Regions from separate parts of the Homo sapiens genome. Here regions 1 and 2 are each linked to region 3. The links are contacts of gene promoters, found by promoter capture Hi-C in human tissues and cell types (Jung and others, 2019). All regions are on one chromosome and are shown on one strand. Each heading gives the region's core, a stretch centred on a gene start or on the middle of the fragment in contact. The rest is flanking DNA. Distances are from core to core; before and after follow the strand shown.

Region 1 (3,492 bases), core at 434-2,933, 970 kb after region 3:
TCCATATTTAAATCATGAGTGGCTACTGTGAAACCTTTATGCACATTTAAAATCTCAGAAAAAAACAAAGTAATTAAAGTGTTTCAAGGACATAACTTGCATTCTATATAAATGAATGCAAAACTAAAAGCCTACAGCATGTTTGGAAATGGCTTAAATGAAAAGTGATTAAATTCACTTTGAGATTTAAGAAATAATTTCCTCATCACTGATAGTTAACTATAATGTTGGTGCTGGCTGTAGGACCTTGATTTCTATTATGTTAGTTGTCAAAATAATTTCTATCAAGAAAAAATACAAAACCAAATAGATCAGCAGTAAAAATAAGTGAAATCAGTTAGATATATCTGGTGCCCTTTTAAACTATAGTGGGGTGGGGAAGAAAGCATAGTAACTCCTTGATAATCTTAATTTCCATACTTGTGGTATACACTCAGAAAAATACTTGATTTAGGTAGTCTTTGATAGGTTATTGAAATTTTCCTATATATCCACTTTCCTATGTTGTTGTTCAGCAGCAAAGAGGTTTAACTAAATGCCTTATAAGGGAAATTAGTAATTTAAATAAACATTCTATGCTGGGAAAAATACAGCTGGGAAAAGGCGCATGCATAACCAAACAGAGAGAAAGCAGTGACCATCCCAAAGCTTTTTGATTGCTTATAGCTTGCTTCAGTTGCATTAAGCCAAACTGGTGCTGTCTTTCTCCTTTTGCGCTCTGCACACTGTTAGTGCTCACCTGCAGCTTTCCTTCCAAAATAGCCCATTACATGACTGTACAGATCCCTCAGTGGAGCCTCTGGTGGCATTCTGTTCTGCCTCTGTGGGGAAACATTTGCCTTCGGCTTCGAAAGAGCATGTACAACAGTTTTATAAACGCCACCCAGGGAGCCCTGCTGTAGTCCTGCCTCATGACTTGATGACCTAAGAGTACTACGACTACCTAATTGACTACTTGCAATTCCTTCTTTTTGTAATATGGTGGTGGGAATCTCTGTGGATTCCTTCACTGTTTTGCTGCTTACTGATGCAGTACCAAGTGTATCTAGAGGTCTGTACACACCAGGTTTTACTAGCTCTGTAGCACTATTTGTGCTGGTATGGGTGTTGCTAGTGCTGCTATTGCTGCTACCACTACTAAAGCCACCGAGCTTCCGCAGTCTCATCTTCCATGGAGCCTCTTTGTTTTCCAGAGGATTATAAAACTGAACGGACTCAGTGGATGGCCTAAAAGTAACATGAACACTATTTCGTTTTTTAGTAGCAATTTTCATGATTTTGGCTCTATGAGTTACTGTTTCAGACAAGCTCCTTTTAGTTGGAGAAAGTTTGCTAGTACTTGTAACATGAGGCATTCTGCGGTTAACAGGTGCTTTTAGTGTTGCTTTCTTGGCACGCATAACATGTGGGACAGTGATTTTTTCATTAATTTGCACACTCTTAAGCTTTTCAACTAGTGTTACATCAACACAAGCATCTAATTCTGTGGCTGCTTGTCTGTACAGATGTTTCCTTTTTTCTTTATCACAAGGGCTATCTAAACTAGGCTCTGATGGCTGTTTATCAGTGTTTAGTTGCTTAGATTTTTCAGAAGTTTGTGTTCTAAAAAAACTGTCTGACTGGTTAGGTGCGATATTACTCATGAAGACAGCTGAGTTTGGTTCTTTCTGAAACTGTAGGTTTTCAGGAGTCCCAACAAAAGAGGTGATATTTTCTGATTCAGTTTCCTGATCTGTGCATTCTAATTTATCTAAGGATAATCTTTCACCCCTATTTACTGCAATAGTCACTTCCTGAGAAGCTGGGTCTTTCCCTGTCTCATTTTTACTATGATTTTCCTGGTTTTCCTTAAAATATTCTTTCAGGGTGGAAAGAAGATCATCATCTCCTTCAAGGTCAATGTACTGGATTTGTTCAAAAGCTGAATCTGCAAGTTCTACTGGACCTATTAAATGACAAAGATGGTCATATATGCTATCACCAACTTCCAGAGAAGACTCTCTACTATGAGTATCAGTGATGTGGCTTTCAGTGGATCTAGTTATTGAAGAAGCCTCTGTGGAACTCTGCAAGCTTGGTGCATGACGGGATGAACTGTCAATGACAGGAACTGCACCTTTGGCTCGTTCAACAGTGAATGGTTCCAAGATGTCAGAAGTGCTGCTACTTCGAGGCAATGGCTGCTCCTCATTCAAAGCACCAAAAACTTCATTTCCAGTTTCTTCACTTTGTGAAAAATGTCTGACTCTAGTTGAGCGGGGAAGTATTTGAGCATCATCAATATCTGTAAAAGAAAAAAAAATTATGTAGAGAAGAACTACACAAATATAAAAAATAATTATTAATTTCAATAATGCTCTAAAGCATATGCTTTAAAAAAAATCTGAGTTTTTGTAAGCTCAATGAAAAAAAAATCAAAATACAAATCTGCTTTTTTAAAAAAATGATGGGCACAAGCCAATATAGCATGTAGTGTCAATGAATTAGAAAACTACCAAAACACATTTTAAAATGTTAACATGCATAGAAACAGACAGTGAGGTGATGAAACATTTGGAAGTGCAGATAAAGATAGAGCTGTGCCAATAAATCAAGCAACTCAAATGCTATTAAATTTTTCCTACTTATTTACGTTCCAAGCAGAAAAAATACACCTTAACACAGAAAGCCGATCCAAGTATCCCACTGTAGACTCTTATAGGGTCTAATAAATTCTCCAGCTTCCTTCCCAAAAAGGCAAGAGGCATCTTTTCTTCAAATTTTGCTTCTCTGTTTGATTACATATTAGAAATGAAAGTCTCTACCCTCTTCCTAAATTTCTCTTTGTCAGGAAACTGTTCTCCCCAGGTGTTTTACTTTATTACGTATTAAAATCTTATTCACTGACATCAAATAAAGTCAATATATTTTTTAAAAAATCAATTGTATTCTTTTGTTTTTGGCAAAAACACCACTTAAATCTGCTAGGAAGAAACTTTACCTGCCTGTTATTGGCCCTTTCCATTAAACAGCCATCAAGCTCTAAAAACTATATTTCTGGCTTCTTACATCTCTTTTTAAGAATTATAGGCTGGGCGCGGTGGCTCACACCTATAATCCCAGCACTCTGGGAGGCTGAGGTGGGCAGATCACCTGAGGTCGGGAGTTCAAGACCAGCCTGACCAACATGGAGAAACCCCATCTCTATTAAAAACACAAAACTAGCCGGGCGTGGTGGTGCATGCCTGTAATTCCAGCTACTTGGGAGGCTGAGGCAGGAGAACTGCTTGAACCCATGAGGCAGAGGCTGCGGTGAGCCGAAATAATGCCACTGCACTCCAGCCTGGGCAACAAGAGCAAAACTCCGTCTCAAATAATAATAATAATAATAATTATTATTATTATTATAGATGGACATTCAGAGATTATCTAATTTAACTATCTCACAGATGAGAAAATTGAAGCCCAGAGAGGTTAAGTTACTTTATCAAATTTACAATAAAAAAGTTTGAG
Region 2 (3,181 bases), core at 682-3,181, 520 kb after region 3:
TAAATGTTGGTGTTCTCTGATGTTCTATCTCTGCATCTTTACCTTAGACAGGTACTTGAAACTAAATACTGTATGTCCAAAACTGAACTTGCCATCTTCCTGCCAGACATCTACACCAATAGGTGGTACCAAATGTTCACCAAGTCTTGCCAATTTTACCTCCTAATTATTTCTCTCTCTCTCTCATCTTCTTTCTTTCTCTCTCTTTCTCCTTCTTTCTTTCATTTTTCTTTTCTTTCTTTTCTTTCCTTTCTTCCTCCCTCCCTCCTTCCCTCCTTCACTCCTTCCTTCCCTCCTTCTCTTCCTTCCTTCTCTTCCTTCCTTTCCTTCCCTTCCTTCCTTTCCTTCCTTCCTTCCTTCTCTCTCTCTCTCTCTTTCTCTCTCTCGACAGAGTCTTGCTCTGTCACCCAGGCTACAGTGCAGTGGCGCCATCACAGCTCACTGCAGCCTTGACCTCCTAGGCTGAAATGATCCTCCTGCCTCTGCATCCTGAGTAGCTGGGACCACAGACGTGCGCCACCACATCCAACTAATTTTTAAATTTTTCGTAGAGACAAAGTCTCCCTATGTTGCCCAGGCGGATCTCAAACTCCCAGACTCAAGCGATCCTCCCACCTAGACCTCCCAAAGTGCTGGGGTTACAGGCATCAACCACTATGCCCAGCTCTGTTTCTCAAATCCATTCTTTTCTCTTCTTCTTTTACCATATCTTTCTCATCAGATCCTTGTTAGTACCTGCTTAAATCCCTATCATAGCCTCCTAACTGGTTTCTCATCTTCAGTTTTGTTTCTTTCAAATCTATCCTCTTCCACAGGCAAAAATGACCATGTAACTTAAATCAATTTACAGTTAATGTTTTGACTAGGGAGATATCTGAATATATTAAAATATTTATAGTTCCCCTTTCCAATTTTGCCTTTTCACCTTCTTAAACTTCTATTTTTTATTTGAGACAGCGTCTTGCTCTGTTGCCCAGACTGGAGTACAGTGGTGCTATCTCGGCTCACTGCAACCTCTGCCTCCCGGGTACAAGAGATTCTCCTGCCTCAGCCTCCGCTGGGACTACAGGCGTATGCCACCAAGCCCGGCTAATTTTTTTTGTATTTCTAGTAGAGACGGGGTTTCACTGTGTTAGCCAGGATGGTCTTGATCTCCTGACCTTGTGCTCCACCCACCTCGGCCTCCCAAAGTGCTGGGATTACAGGCATGAGCCACCGTGCCTGGCCTTAAATTTTTAAATTAGATATAATATCTGTTCATTAAGTCAAACAAACAAAACTCTAAATACAGTGCACATAGCCATTCTAAGTTAACACATCTTTTTTTTTTTTCTCTGCGTTTTATGTGAAGGGCCAGAAACCAAACACTGTATTAAAGGTGGGCACTGTGCTTAAACAATCCTATGAAGAAATTAGATTCTCATTTTACAAATGAGAAAACTGAGGTGCAATTAAGTCACTTCCCTGAATCGTTAATAAAAGTAACAGATTCAGAATTGAAATGCCAATCTGACACCAAAGTCTGTGGTCTTTTACCGTGCCGCACTATCATGCCCTGTGGTATGCATTTGTAATTCCCAAACCCACATATCTAGACCGCCCCTCACTGGGTAGTTCTCTGGATTTGTTTACACCTGTAGGTTTGGACAGCCTACCAATGCCAGAAATTAGGATTTGGAGGATGAGTATGTATAGGAAAATGACACAAAGAAAGCCAGGTTGTAGGAAAGTTAACCTGGCAATGTCACAGGAGAAACAGCATTGAAAGACCAACCAAAAGACCTAATGACATCTTGAACTAAAGTGATGACAGTGGAATCTAAAAAAGAGGAAAAGAATGTGCTTAAAGGAATGAAAGTCTAGGACTTTGGGAAAAATATGTCAACTCTGTTGTCATTAAACCTCTTAATTCTCTTAAAATCTTAACCTTTTTAAGATTAAGATTCATTAAGTGAAACAAACAAAACTCTTTAAATACAGTGCACATAGCCATTCTAAGTTAACACGTCTTTTTTTCTCTGCATTTTATCTGAAGGGCCAGAAACCAAATACTCTTATTAAAGCTGGACACTGTGCTTAAGCAGTCCTATGAAGTAAGGCATATCAAAGCTTTTTTAAGGCATCACAAGGCTATATATAAATGTATGACATTGTGCTTTTACAGCCTAACAATAACAACACGTAGTCTTTTACAGCTTATAGAGTCCTTTCATTAATATTAAGTGATTTGATCCTCACACATCCCTATGGACTAAGTGTTGTATTTTTCTTACTTTACATATAAGGAAACTGGCTTAAAAGGCTGTGACTTGCCCAGAGGTAACAGCTCTCAAAACACTACACTAGGCCAGGTGTGGTGGTGGCTCACGGCTATAATCCTAGCACTTTAGGAGGCGAGGCGGGCGGATCTCTTGAGGTCAGGAGTTCAAAACCAGCCTGGCCAACATGGTGAAACCCCGTCTCTACTAAAAATACAAAAAAATTAGCCAGGTGTGGTGGCAGGTGCCTGTAATCCCAGCGACTTGGGAGGCTGAGGCAGGAAAACCCAGAGGCGGAGGTTGCAATGAGCCAAGATTGCAACACCGCACTCCAGCCTGGGTGACAGAGTAAGACTCCGTCTCAAGAAAAAAAAAAAAAAAACAAACTACACTAAATCCACTTCCTATGCTTTCTCCAGAGATGTCTGCTTCCCTAAAAACAAACAATATTTTTTCAAAGTACATGATCAAGGTGGAGCCCCTTTTCTCCTCAGCATTTGAATACCAGCTTATAATTAAGAGTTTATTAGATCAGGCAACGAGCTGGTGAAGAACAAGAACAGACTACTGTATAGTGTTCATAAAATTAGATGGCTGGTCTAAATTTTAGAAACAAGATTCTCGTGACCTTTGACAGGTTACATGTACATGACACATTGTTTCTTTGGCATTTCAGACGTTGCCTGCAAGCATTCTGTGAATGAAGCCATACCAGTGTCATGCCAAATCATGAACTGTCCTGCCCTGTACAACTAAAGAAAACCAAGGGTCTTCTGCTCTGGCCTCTATAGAATAAATTAGAAAAGTTGGCTGGGCACGGTGCCCCATGCTTGTAATCCCAGCACTTTGGGAGGCAGAGGCGGGCAGATCACCTGCGGTCAAGAGTTTGAGACCAGCCTGGCCAACATGGTGAAACCTTGTCT
Region 3 (3,495 bases), core at 579-3,078:
GGGGGAAATACAACAAAAAACCAAAACCTAATACTATTCCAATGGACTGAGCTGGAGAAATGGAAGCTCCTTAAGATCCAGATGGCACTTGACTGTCATTTTATAATGGTTTTCCTTCAAGTGAAACTACTACATTGCCTCCCAATTTCTCTCCAAGTGTCGAACGGTCCTTAATATCATCCAAGCCATTTACTTGCCACTCATGTTTAATACCTAAAAAGAAAAAACATTATCCTATTACTTTATTATAATTAATAAAGAATAATTTCTCTGCCCCAAATATTCAAGTTTGTACCTGTAAATTTCTTTTTAATGGCATCTTTAGAGCTAGCATAAATCATCTTGCTTTTTAAAGGTGCACTTTCAGGAGCCCTACAGAAAAAAAAAAAATTATTGAATCCCATTTATAAGAAAAACAAAGGTAAGACTGACTATGATAATAATAATCCTTGCATTTTAAAAGTACTTTTTTCTTTTGTTTTTACACACCAGAATATAAATACTAGGTCTTCTTTCTTAGACTCTTTTGTTTCGTATGTGGCATCGTACAAAGCATATCGGCAATCATTCAGAGGTAGCAACTTCACAAAAGATGTGTAGGGGTCCTCTACAGTATCACCAATGTCACCCACCAAGATCTGCTTTGCTTCCTCTACAATTATTTGTCTTTTGTCATCGCTTAAACAGAAGAGAACTGCTTTCTTTCTCTTTTTGATCTCCTCTTGTGTAGAAGATTTCCTTACTTTCATATCATTAAAAACTTTGATGACTTCATCATTCACTGTAACTCCAGAAGCCTGAAAATAAACACAGAACAGTAATTCAGAACACGTATTTTGGTTTTAACCAAAATTACTGTTTGCCTAGAGAAGACTCACTTTAGTCTGGACATCAAAAATTGCACCGTACCATGTAAGTCGTCCAATCAGATTTGTCACATTTTAAGAATCAGTAGACGATACAGCGAAGGAGTCTAACTCATCCTGCCCATTCATCCTTCTTAAAGGGGTTTGGACGTGGAAGCGAAAGGGACAAATACAAGTTGTCCCATCCCTGAAATGTTTCCTATTTCACTGGGTGATGTCAGAGCTTCAGGAGTGGCAGCAAAAATACCTTCTGTATTGTGTCAACTCGGCTGGCCTTAAAAAAACACTTTTGGATTTCAGTTAATGCTTCTACTATTTTTTTCTTTAAAGTCATCCTAGCCACTGACGTTTCCTCATAAGGAAAGAGAATCAAGTGTAAACTCCAAACCGCCCACGGCCCACACACAGCTCACATGCAGACACTCCAAAACTAACTGATCGAGTGTAAAAGCTTTTACGGCGAGAAAGCATTTTAAAAAGTGTTTTCCCTCTTCCTTAATCTCCCCGTAAGGGTTTTATTACAGGCCGTCCAGACCCTGACCCACACAGCGTTCGCAGCACGTACCAATTTTAAAGCCTCGCGTGTTAAGTAAAATTAGGAAGCGAAGGGCAAAGGCGGCGCGAGCGGCTGCAGTCCGCAGACCCTCTCGCGCCCCCGCCCGCCCGGCCCCGACCCCCAACCTGCGCCGACGCCCGGGCCCTCCCCGCCCCCCAAAATCCAAAGAGCAGCAGGGCAGGGCCTGACGGCCGGAGGGCAGGCCGGTCGGCTGGAGAGCAGCGGAGCCGCAGAGCAGAAGCGCCCACCTTGGAGGCCAAAATCAGGTTAAAATGGCGGCCTCACTCCCGGGGCCGTGCGGGGGGCTTTTCTCGCCTCGCCGCGGCCTCCCGGCCAGCGCGCTCGTCTTACCATAGTGCCCTCGGCTGTGGCTGCGGCGGCAGCTCGGGCTTCGGCTCTGTGGCACTGGGAGGAGAAGGAGGGGCGGGCGAGCGGGTGGGCAGCGGAGAGTGCGGGGCACGCCGGGAGCTGCAGCCCGAGGGAGGTGGCGGGGCTCGGCGGGCCGCAGGCAGCGGGCGGGGCGGTCACGTGGGCACGCCTGGTCCCCAGCCGGCGCCACCCGCTCCCAGGCCGGCCCTTCTGTCTCGCGGCCCCGGCTCCCCGGCTGTCCGCGTCCTCGGCCTGACCTCAGAGCGCGAGCCCTGCAGGCCGGGGGGGGCGACGCGGTGGTAGCGGAGCCCGGGAGCCTGGCAGAGCCGCCTCCAGCCCCCGAGCATCACCCGTCAAGCCGGTGGGAGAGAGTGCTGGGCTCCCAGAGGGGCGTTTCCACCGCCTCCGTAGGGCCCTGCGCCAGGGGTGGGTGCGTGTGAGGGGAACTCCTGCGAAGGTGTCTTTCCTTATTTACCTGTGGTTTTCCCGAAAGAGGCTGGATTTCGACATTTTGAGTCTTTTTGGAAAACCCCCAGTTGTTTAGAGATAAATGAGAATAAATACTACACGAGATTGCTCCAGTTGATAGTACTTAGCAAAAACAAAATGATACGCAGTGTTGGTAAATCACTTTTCAAAACTCTGGTTGAAATAATAATTATGATTAAAAAATTACGTGGTAGCATTCCTTAGTAATATCCTTTTACATTTTAGACTTCATAGGAAATGGATTGTACTCTCTCTTAGAGATTTCATGAAGCTCCAGCTATGACAGCTGATATCAAATAAGCCGACGCAGCCTCTTCTAGCAAAGCCCATATAACTGCGCCAAGGCAGTTTCTCTTTTTTTAATCTTAACTCCTCCATACCTCAGGGTTCTTCATGTGTAAAACAAACTGTTATTAAATTATCGTTAAGGCCCTTTCCAGCTTTAGATTTCAGTTTCTGAGTATATCAATGTTCAGTAGGAAATGGTGTGTTTTTGGTGGTCTCAGGATTGAGGTTAGGCAGGAAAGTCATGAGATGGTGTTTGCCCTAGATTGCGTGATAAGTTCTTTCAGCCCAAATTTACTGTATTTTAAATGGAACATGCTAGGCATTGAAACAGACCTATTTTTCTGTCTATATCTTGGGTTTGTTTTCTTAATTGGAAGATAGACTTCGTTTAGAGACAAAAATTGAGAAGGGATTTCCCAATGTCTAAGCATGAATCCCAAGCAAGTGGATAATACTTTATATCTAGCTGGTACATTACAATTTATGGAACCTTTCACTTTATCTGTTGAACTTCCAAGAAGTCATGGAGAATGTCTCTCCAGAGCTCTGATCATCTGCTATGTGTAGGTATTAGCAAATTCCTGTTCGCTTCATCTTGCGGTTACCTTCCCTTCCCAACCTCAGAGATTTGCAGCAGCCCCAGCAGAGACCAGGTCTGATGACACTGGGGCCTAAAGTGGGTGTCAGAACCTTACCCACCAAAGCTGGGGATTCCAAAGATGCTAGTCACCCCCTAGCTCGGACTCCAACCCCTTTCCATGCCTCCCATTCTCTCTTACCCTCCCCAAACAGAGATGGTAATTCACATGTTCTAAGATTCTTTTCCTGAAGTTATTTTTGTCTTGCATATATTTTGTTACATTATAATAACTTGTTTATGTCTTCTGCCACCCTACTGCGCTGTAAGCTCCTTAAGGATCTGAGTCC

The links. The method cuts DNA at HindIII sites, captures the fragments that hold promoters and counts their contacts. A contact is called where the count stands out against the background at its distance.
Region 1: a contact is called between a fragment that was not itself captured here and the fragment with the promoter of CFL2 in region 3, in 1 of the 25 tissues and cell types used here (spleen).
Region 2: a contact is called between a fragment that was not itself captured here and the fragment with the promoter of CFL2 in region 3, in 1 of the 25 tissues and cell types used here (mesendoderm cells).

The regions. Positions count from the first base shown.
Region 1 is chr14:35,687,720-35,691,211 of GRCh38, forward strand. RALGAPA1 (Ral GTPase activating protein catalytic subunit alpha 1) reads right to left here. Exons shown (of 42, transcript NM_001346249.2): 18 at 740-2,284. Among named protein-coding and RNA genes, the nearest start is that of SNORA101B, 73 kb to the right of the region's middle. The HindIII fragment of the contact is 3,538 bases long and covers 1-3,452 here.
Region 2 is chr14:35,236,727-35,239,907 of GRCh38, forward strand. The region is part of intron 5 of PRORP (protein only RNase P catalytic subunit); the gene reads left to right. All of the region lies in intron 5 of PRORP-PSMA6 (PRORP-PSMA6 readthrough), which reads left to right. Among named protein-coding and RNA genes, the nearest start is that of PSMA6, 54 kb to the right of the region's middle. The HindIII fragment of the contact is 8,663 bases long and covers 1-3,181 here.
Region 3 is chr14:34,712,765-34,716,259 of GRCh38, forward strand. CFL2 (cofilin 2) reads right to left here and starts at 1,829. Exons shown (of 4, transcript NM_138638.5): 1 at 1,774-1,829; 2 at 490-797; 3 at 296-372; 4 at 1-213. The coding sequence starts at 1,776. The coding sequence ends at 101. RefSeq lists silencers at 1,526-1,585, 1,676-2,265. The HindIII fragment of the contact is 13,048 bases long and covers 1-3,495 here.